Linked DNA regions of Homo sapiens: all the other regions are linked to region 2. The links are contacts of gene promoters, found by promoter capture Hi-C in human tissues and cell types (Jung and others, 2019). All regions are on one chromosome and are shown on one strand. Each heading gives the region's core, a stretch centred on a gene start or on the middle of the fragment in contact. The rest is flanking DNA. Distances are from core to core; before and after follow the strand shown. Region 1 overlaps TPST1 (tyrosylprotein sulfotransferase 1). Region 2 holds the start of ASL (argininosuccinate lyase). Region 3 overlaps TPST1 (tyrosylprotein sulfotransferase 1).

Region 1 (3,732 bases), core at 899-3,398, 210 kb after region 2:
AGCCTGGGTGGCAGAACGAGATTCCGTCTCAAAAAAAAAAAAAGTTTATCATAGAAAATTGGAAAATATGGATAAGTTAGGTAAGAAAATAAAAATCATGCTGCATTGTAAACATTCTGATATGATTCTAAACATACATATAACATGCATTTAGAACACATCGCTTTTTTCTTTCCAACTTTTAGGTTCAGGGAGTACATGCACAGGTTTGCTACCGGTAAATTGTCTGTCACGGGGGTTTGGTGTACAGATTGTTTCATCACCCAGGTAATAAGCATAGTACTCTATGGGTAGTTTTTCGATCCTCACCTTCCTCCCACCCTCGACCCTTAAGTAGGCCCAAGCGTCTGTTGTTCCCCTTTGTATCTATGTGTGCTCAGTGCTTAGCTAGCACTTATAAGTGAGAACATGCAGTATTTGGTTTTCTGTTCATGTATTAATTCGCTTAGGATAATGGCCTCCAACTCCATCCATGTTGCTGCAAAGGACACTATTTCATTTTTTTATAGCTGTGTAGTATTCCATGGTGTATATCTACCACATTTTCATCATCCAGTCCACTGTTGTGGGCATTTAGGTTGGTTCCATGTCTTAGCTATTGTGAACAGTGTTGCGATGAACATACAGTTACATGTGTCTTTATAGTAGAACGATTTATATTCCTGTGGGTATATATCCAGTAAGGGGGTTACTGGGTCTAATGGTAGTTCTGAGTTCTTTGAGAAATCTTCGAACTGCTGTCCACAGTGGCTAAACTAATTTACATTCCCACCAGCAGATATAAGCATACTCTTTTCTTTGTTTTGTTTTGTTTTAAAACTAAAGCTTATTCTGGCCAATTTACTCTACTATTTTCTAATAACAGCTCATAGATCAGAAACGGTCTTTGTTTTAAACTTTCCTATCCATATGAAACACAATGATGTTGGGGTAAGAGGGGCCTTTTCTCTAAATGAAAATACAATACTTATTCTGTATAATTCTAGAGGGCCCAGAGATGTGGAAATAATGTATTTGTAAGAATTATATTAAACAATCTTTATTTGATAAATAGTACCTTACAATCCTAATGCTATCTATCAAGCTTCAGTAAGAGCAATTTCAGCATCAAGTAATGAACAGTAGCTAAACTGACAAGAGATCAATCAAAAGGGCTTTAAATGGAGCAGCACCAGCTGATGTGCTGCTAAGGCTCTGGGCATTCAGGACTCTCCTATGGGGAAAACGGAATCAAACCAGCAGGTGCTCTGGACCTAAGCCTTCACATCGTGACCTGCCTCCCTCCTGGGGGTGTGGTGGCCCACAGTCCCCCTGGCATTTCTCGGCCCTTGTGGGCTGCAGACGGAAATCCTGGCACCAAAGGACAGCTTGGGAAAGGCTGAAACTTGACCTCACAGTCAGCTGGCTTCTGCCTATTGTGGTCATTTTCTTTCCAGAGCACCTAGAGCACTCGCACAGTGGACGTGGAAGCCACCCAGCATTCTTGGGCTGTTTTCTCATAGAAGAGGACCTTCCTCTAAGCATTGGAAGCGTCTTTCTCCAATTCCTGGGCCAGATCTTGGGCCATCTTCTTGTAGGTCATGGGTCTGACACACATGGTTCAAGTTTTCGTGGCTATTGTGAATGGGATTGTGTTTTTGATTTAGCTCTCAGCTCGGATATTGTTGGTGTATGGAAATGCTATTTTTGTACAATGATTTTGTATCCTGAAACTTTACTGAAGTTGTTTATCAGATCTAGAAGCTTTTGGGCAGAGACTGTGGGGTTTTCTAGGTATAAAGTCATATCGTCTGCAAATATGGAAGATAGTTGACTTCCACTCTTCCTGGATGCCTTTATTTTTCTTACTACTCTATCTAGGACTTCCAGTACTGTGTTGAGTAGGAGTGGTGAGAGAGGGCATCCTGGTCTTATTCTGGTTCTCAATGGGAATACTTCCAGTATGGTATGCTTCCAGCAGCACATCAACTGGTGCTGCTCCCTTTAAAGCACTTTTGATTGATTTCTTGTTAGTTTAGCTATTGTTCATTACTTGATGCTGAAATTGCTCTTATTGAAGTTTGATAGATAGCATTAGAATTGTAAGGTACTATTTATCAAATAAAGATTGTTTAATATAATTCTTACAAATACATAATTTCCACATCTGTGGGCCCTCCAGAACATTTCAGCATGTTCTGGATGTTGGCTGTGGGTTTGTCATAGATATCACTTATTGTTTTGAGGTATGTTCCTTCGATGCCTAGCTTGTTGAGAGTTTTTAACATGAAGGGATGCTGAATTTTATTGAAAGCATTTTCTGTGTCTATCGAGATGATCATGTAGTTTTTGTCTTTAGTTCTGTTTATGTGATGAATCACATTTATTGGTTTGTGTATGTTGAACCCACCTTGCATCCCAGGGATAAAGCCTACTTGATTGTGGTGGATTAGCTTTTGATGTGCTTCTAGTCTCTGTTTCCTAGTATTTTTGTTGAGGATTTTTGCATCTGTGTTCATCAGGGATATTGGCCTGAAGTTTTCTTTTTTTGTTGTATCTCTGATAGGTTTTGGTGTCAGAATGATGCTGACCTCATAGAATAAGTTGGCAAGGAGTCCCTCTTCCTGAATTTTTGGGAATAGTTTCAGTAGGTTTGGTACAAGGTCTTCTTTATACATCTGATAGAGTTTGGTTATGAATCCCTCCTGTCTAGGGCTTTTTCTGGTTGGTAGGTTTTTTAGTACTAATTCAATTTAGGAACTCATTATTGGTCTGTAGAACACATTTTCACAAAGTTGAATTTCTATTGTATATACATTTTAAAATCTTCTTTCACAAGACATGACCTGAGCATTTTCTAATAGTGAAAGTCTTTGAAAACATGGTTTTTAATGGTATTTCATTACATGTTTTACTGTAATAAACCTAACCACTTGGATTATGTACTCTTTCACTCATTCCTTTTTGCATATCTGTTCCATCCCCTATGCTTTAATATGGAGGATTTGGTTTCTTGTAGTAGTTGCTGGGTATCATAATTCAGACCTGTGGTTTGGCAGTCAGCCTGGCTGTAGTGTTTAACTGAGTCTCGTGGAAGATCCATGCTTAAAATGAATGTCGTGGAGAATTGTATTCACCTCAGTCATTCAAGACTTTGGCATAGACCCCATTCCTTGAGGAGGAGTTGCCGCCACTGTGACTGCCACAGACGGAAGGAAGCCTGGGCAGTTGGGACTGGGGAGAACTTGCTGAGTCACAGATATCTTGTCTCAGTGTGCATGGGCCGTGTGTATTGAAATGTACCAGTCTGTGAGGCACTATGTTTTGAGGTCTCAGTAAGCTAAAGGGGTGTAGAATGGTATCTAGTTCATACCGTAGTATGCTTTAGATCTAAGTGTTGGTTAATTCTGTAAGGACTGAAGGAATAGGGGAGATTTAATGAGCTCCTTGCAGTCTGCAGGTTATTATCGAGAAAAGAAAATTAGGCTCTCAGTTCCAGGCCCATTTCCCTCTAATCACTGTGTCCTTTTGAACAAAAGTTGGCAAACTTTTTCTGTAAAGGGCCAGATATTTTTAGCTTTGCAGGCCATATGATTTCTGTTGTAAGCATTGAGCTCTTCTGTTATAGAGCAAAAGCAGCCATAGGCAGTACAGGAACAAATGGCCATGGTTATGTTCTAGTAAAACTTTATTTACATAACAGGCAGCAGGCCAGATTGGAGCAATAGTTGTCAACTCCTGCTTTGAAAATGT
Region 2 (3,433 bases), core at 791-3,290:
GCTGGGACCGTGCCATTGCACTCTAGCCTGGGCAATAAGAGCGAAACTCCATCTCAAAAAAATAAATAAAAATAAAATAAAATAAAATAAATTTGGCTCCTCTGATTTTAAAATCGATCGGGGTTTCCTATGACCTATAGGACCAAGAACAAACTCCCTCTCTTGACATTGAAGACTCTTCACAGCCTTCTCCCAAACTCCTTCCACCTCTCCTCCCTACCTTTTGTTATAGTTACAGCCACTTGGATGATTTCCTGTTCTTAAAGCAGGCCAGTCACATTTTTTGTCCAGACTTCTCCCTCTGCCTGGAATGTTCTCCCCTTCTTCCCTGGGCAAATTCCCCCCATCTTCCAAGACCCAATGCAGAAGACAGGTTCATTAGAAGCCCCTTCAGGGTACTTCCAGTGCCTAGAATCCAGCCTGACATTTTGGTTGAATAATTAATTAATCAGATCAAGGACCTCTTCCCTGAGTACCCAACATAGCCCCCCTCCCCAACGCCTGTGCTCCCTGCACACCTCCTCCATGCTATGTTGGAACTTCTTGAAGTCAGGCTTCATTTCTTTTGTTTCGTTTCTTTCTTTGTTTTCTCTTCTCTTTTTCTTTTTCTTTCTTTCTTTCTTTTTTTTTTTTTTTTTTCGAGACAAGAGTCTCACTGTCGCCCAGGCTGCAGTGCAGTGGTGCCGTCTCAGCTCACTGCAGCCTCCACCTCCCTGGTTCAAGTGATTCTCCTGCCTCAGCTGTCGGAGTAGCTGGGACTACAGGCACCCACCACCACACCCGGCTAATAGAGACAAGGTTTCACCATGTCAGCCAGGCTCATCTCGAATTCCTGACCTCAGGTGATCCGCCCGCCTCAGCCTCTCAAAGTGCTGGGATTAAAGGCGTAAGCCACTGTGCCCGGCTGCGTTTCTTTTTTCTTTTCTTTTCTTTCTTTCTTTCTTTCTTTCTTTTTTTTTTTTTTTTTTTTTTTGAGACAGAATCTTGCTCTGTCACCCAGGCTGGAGTGCAATGGCACCATCTCAGCTCACTGCAATCTCCGCCTCCCGGGTTCAAGAGATTCTCCTGCCTCAGCCTCCGGAGTCGCTGGGATTGCAGGCACCCGCCACCGTGCCCGGCTAATTTTTGTATTCTTAGTAGAGACGGGGTTTCACCACCTTGGCCAGGCTGGTCTCAAACTCCTGACCTCGTGATCCACCCGCCTCGGCCTTCCAAAGTGCTGGGATTACAGGCGTGAGCCACCGCGCCCGGCCTCCGGCCGCGTTTCTTTTCTTTTTTAGAGGAGTCAGGCTGGAGTGCCGTGGCACAATAGCTCACTGCAGCTTCGAACTCCTGGGCTCAAGTGCTCCTCCCGCCTCAGCCTCCTGAGTAGCTAGGACTGCAGGCGTGCACCACCACGCCCGGCTTTTTTTTTATTATTATTAATTTTTTTGTAGAGACGGGATCTTGTTGTATTGCCCAGGCTGGTCTCCAACTCGTAGCCTCAAGCGATCCTCCCACCTCGGCCTCCCAAAGTGCTGGGATTACAGCTGTGAGCCACCGCGCCTGGCACAGGCTTCATTTCTGATGGTCCTTCCTTTTTCCTTGATGCCTTTCTCTGTACCTGGCACATAGAGGTGCCTGGTACGTGTTTGTTGAATGAATGAATGAATGAGTGAATGAGCGAACATGCCATTTCACCTTATATATCTTGTGAACCTGCCAGGCCCGGGCCTGATGTCATAGCCTCTACCCCTGGCCCGAGTCTCCAGTCCCCTGCGTGTCTGCTGACCACAGCACGAACGCCAGCGCACTACCCTCCTCAACCCCAGCCCAGGCCCCTTCCCCGTCGGGGTCCCCCCAACCCTTTCCCCGCCCGCTTCCCCGCCCCGGGGCCGCTTAGCCTCCAGCTCAGCGGGAGGTATCCCCGCCCACGGCCAGGATTGGAGGATGGAGGCAACGCCCACCCCGCCGGGCGGCCTCCTATTGGCGCGGCCGTCGCCAGGGGTGGGGACAGGACCGGCGGCTGCTGACGCCATCCCGGCCAGAAAAGCCCTGGCCAGTGGCGGGCGCGACACTATCCGTGCGGCCAGGCGGAGGTGAGTGCGCGGCGGCCGGATGGGCGGGACGGGCGTGGAGGACGCCGAGCACCGTGGCGCGCGCTCACGTCCGCGTCCCCAAGGGCTGCGCTCCCTCAAGCGCAGTGCCCAGAACTCGGAGCCAGCCCGGCCCGGGGGACCCTGCTGGCCAAGGAGGTCGTCAGTCCGGTCTTGTCTTCCAGACCCGGAGGACCGAAGCTTCCGGACGACGAGGAACCGCCCAACATGGCCTCGGAGGTGAGTGGGACCTCGGGGACTCCGGTCCTCCTAGCCTCCAAAGGAGAGAGTGGGGGCGCCAGACCTGCCTCGGGCCACCCTGCTGGGAATCGCCCTCCAGGAAGCAATTTTGAAAATTACCTAGGAAGCCTGCACCCCCAGCCCTCCCGGGCGCATCATCTGGAGCCCAGCAGTCACCTTTACCAGGACTCACCAGTATCCGCAGGCAGCCCTTGTGGCAAACCCACCAACCCACACTACTAGGGGTAGAGTGGCTCTGCCCTCACCTCACAGTGATGCCTGCCTGGCCAGGAAAAGTGGCTCCCAAGCCTTCAGCCTTCCAACTCTTCCTTCCTTCTTACCACGTGTCCTCCTGTCAGGTCCCACCCCACACCACATCCCTTCTCCTGCTAGAGCAATTGTCCCTGTTTATAGAATAAAGCTCAGCCCCTAAGTGTTCTTGTCCTTGACTGTGGCATGTGGAAAGAGCCAGGAAAAAGGGGACGTCGCCTCGTGGCTCCAGCAACCCTGGTGCCTGGTCCCTTCCTGTCTCACTGGACCCTGCCTCTTAGGGTCAGTGGCTCCTGGCCTCTCCTCCTGACCACTGAGATGCTGGATTCCCAGGCAGAGGTTTTCCTTCCTTGGGCCATAGTTGATTTATCTGGCAATGGGGGTAATAATAGCTGTCGGCCTCACTCTGTAAGGCACTAGATTATGAGGCCATTGCTTTGGACCCTTCAGGTGAGAGGGGCTGTTCGCCTGATGCTTGATGAAGGGAACTCCGGGAAGCAGGAGGTCTGGGTTCCAGGCCCTTTTGGCCTTCATTAGCTAGCAATTCACTTCCTCTTTCTCAATGCCCTGCAAGCTCAGTGCCCTGCAAGCTTCTGGGTCATGGCAGGGGGGTAGGGCCTGGACTTTGGAGCCAAACAGACTTGGTTTCTGTACCAGTCACTTGAGCCCTTTAAACCTCTTTCCTCATTTGTGAAATAGGGGTAATATTGCCCACCTCATAAAAGGCCGTAATAACATATGTGAAATCCCTAGCACAGGGCTGAGCAACAGTAGGTGCTCAATAAATGGTGGCTAACCACAACAATACTGATATTTCTACTTTGGGAGGCCGAGGCGGGAGGACTGCT
Region 3 (3,534 bases), core at 174-2,673, 160 kb after region 2:
CTTGACTTTTCCCTTTAGCTTAGTGATTTGGGGGCCCCAAGATTTATTTTCCTTTCACAAGTATGAGGGTGTAATTCAATAATTTTTTAGTAGATTTTATAGGGTTGTACAACTATGACAACAGTTCAGTTTTAGAACAGTTCAGTCACCGCAAAAAGTTCCTTCATGTAAGCTTGCACTTAAATCCCTGCTTTTTCACTCTGTCTCTATAAATTTGCCTTGTCATTTAAATGTGTGCTTATGTTGCTCTCATATATATATGTATATACACACACACACTTTTAGGATTGTTTATATCTAAACAACTTTAATGAAGTATATATAGTGTAAGGTATATGTACTTTATTTAAGTATATATACTTAATGTATATATACTGCCTTTGCTTTGAGCTGTCCCACCTTTCCAAACGGAACCAATGTACTTCTTACATATATTGATTGATGTCTCATGTCTCCCTAAAATGTATAAAACCAAGCTGTATCTCAACCACCTTGGGCACAGGTCATCAGGACTTCCTGAGGCTGTTTCACAGGCGTGTTCCCCAACCTTGGCAAAATAGACTTTCTAAATTAACTGATACCTGTCTTAGGTTTTGGAAGTTCACATACTATATATAAATTACACTTCAATAAAGCTTTTTTAAAAACAAGTGTGCACACACTTTATAATTGTTTTCATTTTTAAGCATGGCTTTCTAGGAGTTGCCTTCCTGTCTGCATAGCTTAGTGATCAGTGGTCACCCAGTGCTTGGACAGTGGTTGCCTCAGACATCTTGAGCCAGTAAGGCATTTGTCCTCTGCCAGTAGATCTCTGTGGGTAGGGAGCACATACAAAGTTTAGGCTTTTTCAGATCTGCTGTCTTTTACTTTCCACCCAGTCCTTTCATGTCTCCTCTGTGCCTGCATGCCACTTCTGGGTTGGCCAACAAATGTGCCCCACCCAGACTGCAACCTCCACCTTCTAGAGCTGTTCACCCTCTCACTCGCCTCCCACCTGCTCCATCACTTACTCTGACAGTGCAGGTGGTCATGTGCGTTCTTCCCCACTCCAAACTCAGTGAACTGTCAGTCCTAATGGTTTGCCTTGCCCTGCTCTGCCTTGCAGAACCTCTGTACCTACTGAATGAGTAGATGAGGTGGGAGTAACCTTACACAGACCCTCATTGTTCTTACCCACCTTTTAGCAGTTTTTCAAGCATAAATGCTTCTCAGGTTGTTGTATTCTTCTGGTGGATTTCCAGAGCACTGAAAGGGTTGTTTTGCCCATTTCACCCAGCTTTATCATTGGTTTTTGGGGAGAGGAATTAACTACCTTCTCACTAGGCTGTAGCTGGAAGTCTTCCCTCTCAGAATGTATTTTTTAGTGTAGTTAGTCATTTCCCCAGGTATATTTACTGTATCCTTAGGGTTCTCCAGAAAAACAAAACCAAACCCCTGTGTTAGGGTTTTACAGAAAAACAACCAGTAGTCAGGGTAAGGCAAACCATTAGGACTGGCTGCTTTGCTAGTGGGTTGGAAGGGATCTCACTGAATTTAGAGTGGTGGGTAACGCGCATGCCCACTCTGTATATGGGGAGGGGTCGGGGGTAGGGAGAGAAAGAGACTGATTTTAAGGAATTCACTTATGCGATTGTGGGGCTTTCAAGTCTGAAATTCACAGGGCAGTTGGGCAGAGATGAGTTGATGTTGCAGTCTTGTTCCCGGACCAAACTGAGGGTCGGGTTGCTGTTTCTTGTGGCCCAATAACGAGATGCAGATGAACTGGGGAGGAAGAGAGTTTTTATTTCTGTAACTGTTACAGGGAGGCCTGGAAATTATCACCAGACCGACTTAAAATTACAAAGTTTTTCTGAGCTTATGTACCTTCTAACCTATATGTCTGCATGTAAGTGTGCATTCATCTGAAGATGTAAGTGATTAACTTCTTTTAATCTGTAACTAAAGTCTGAGTCCTGAAGCCCTTCTTCTGGAGCCTCAGTAAGTTTACTTCATCTAAGTGGGTCTAGGTTCTGGGGTGATTACCCTTATCTTATCTCCTGCTAAATCACGGAGATTTGGAGAGTTCCTTCAGACCTCCAATAAACTTGTTTGTGGAGGCCTGGGGAGTTTCTTCAGACCCCTAATAAAACTTGTTTAATCCTAAATGGGTCCTGTTAAGAATTCCTTCGTTATTTTGTCATGCTTTAAGGCCCAGGAAAGGCCTGGGCAAAACTCTTGGTGCGCTTTTGTTACATTCCAGCCTTTGTATAACAGCACTGGCTTTTTTTTTTTTTTTTTTAGCTTTTAATATTTAACTTAACCACTCAGTCAGTACTGAAACAGTTGTTATGGAGGCCTGCGTTAGTGAGACCTGGCCTGCCACAGTCTTAACTCCAGATTCTGCTCGGTAGCAGGCTGGACACACAGGCAGGGTTTCTATGTTGTAGTTCTTTTCCAGGAAACCTCAGTCTTTGCTCTTAAAGCCTTTACCTGTTAGATGAGGCCTTCCTGTATTATGGAGGGTAATCCACTTTACTAGAAATCTGTTGATTTAAGTGTTAATCACATCTAAAATATACCTTCACAGACATATCTAGATTGGTGTTTGATCAAACAACTGGACACCAAAGTCTAGCCAAGTTGACACATAAAATTAACTGTCACACTTGCCTTCTGAGGATTCAGGGTAAATTATTTTGGTGTACATGTAGTCTGGTTGCTGTCTGTTTCCCACTGTATACCCTTGCTCTAGCTAAACTAGCAGCTCCAGCTGTTTCATATACATGCTTCTGCTTTTGCACATCCATGTCTTTGGTCATAGTGTACCTGCAGCATGGAGTGCTTCCTGTGTCCAGATCTTACCTGTCCTTCTGAGGATTAGATCACAGATACTTATACATACAATTTTGTTTGCAGCCTATACACTAGCTTTCCTAAACTTCTTCCTGTCACCTAATTATGCTGTGTTCTGTCTTGCCATTGTGCTTTTGCACACAAGTTCCTTTGGTTTAGAATATCCCTCCCTCTGTCTTTTCTTTCTTAAAGAGACAGGGTCTCAGTGTGGGCTGGTCTCGAACTCCTGAGCTCAAATGATCCTCCCATCTCGGTCTCCCAAAGAGCTGTGATTACAGGCGTAAGCTGCTGCACCTGGTCCTTCCTTCCTACTTTCTGTAAAACTTTTACAGCTTCCTCAGGTCAATTACATGCTCCTTTTCATTATGCTCCCATTGTCCCTTTGCGTATTTCCACGGAGGCACTCATCACATTTTATTGTTATTGTTTACATATCTGTCTGTCAAAAGGCTTTGTTTTCCAACAGCAGAAGTTACTATACTGTTTTCCTTTTCAAAGTTGGTCCTCAGTCGAGCCTATCTGGTCTGTAGTACCTAAATAAATTGTGGGATAATAAACTGAATCTCTGTTAAAGATTTGGAAGTTGTTTCATATTTCTTCTATAATTTCTCATTGTTAGAATGTGGAGATAATGACTGCTTGGAGGTAAAGCAAGTCTGAATAGCAGAGATCAGCCTTGGGTTGGACTCCAGACATTCTTGG

The links. Contacts are between HindIII fragments. The study calls those that stand out against the background at their distance.
Region 1: a fragment that was not itself captured here is called in contact with the fragment with the promoter of ASL in region 2 in 2 of the 25 tissues and cell types used here (adrenal gland and mesenchymal stem cells).
Region 3: a fragment that was not itself captured here is called in contact with the fragment with the promoter of ASL in region 2 in 1 of the 25 tissues and cell types used here (mesenchymal stem cells).

Annotation. Positions count from the first base shown.
Region 1 is chr7:66,278,768-66,282,499 of GRCh38, forward strand. The region is part of intron 2 of TPST1 (tyrosylprotein sulfotransferase 1); the gene reads left to right. Among named protein-coding and RNA genes, the nearest start is that of TPST1, 75 kb to the left of the region's middle. The HindIII fragment of the contact is 5,313 bases long and covers 1-3,732 here.
Region 2 is chr7:66,073,779-66,077,211 of GRCh38, forward strand. ASL (argininosuccinate lyase) reads left to right here and starts at 2,041. Exons shown (of 17, transcript NM_000048.4): 1 at 2,041-2,078; 2 at 2,261-2,315. The coding sequence starts at 2,304. RefSeq lists a silencer at 1,682-2,211 and an enhancer at 2,312-2,591. The HindIII fragment of the contact is 4,995 bases long and covers 1-2,725 here.
Region 3 is chr7:66,236,149-66,239,682 of GRCh38, forward strand. All of the region lies in intron 1 of TPST1 (tyrosylprotein sulfotransferase 1), which reads left to right. Among named protein-coding and RNA genes, the nearest start is that of TPST1, 33 kb to the left of the region's middle. The HindIII fragment of the contact is 3,403 bases long and covers 1-3,125 here.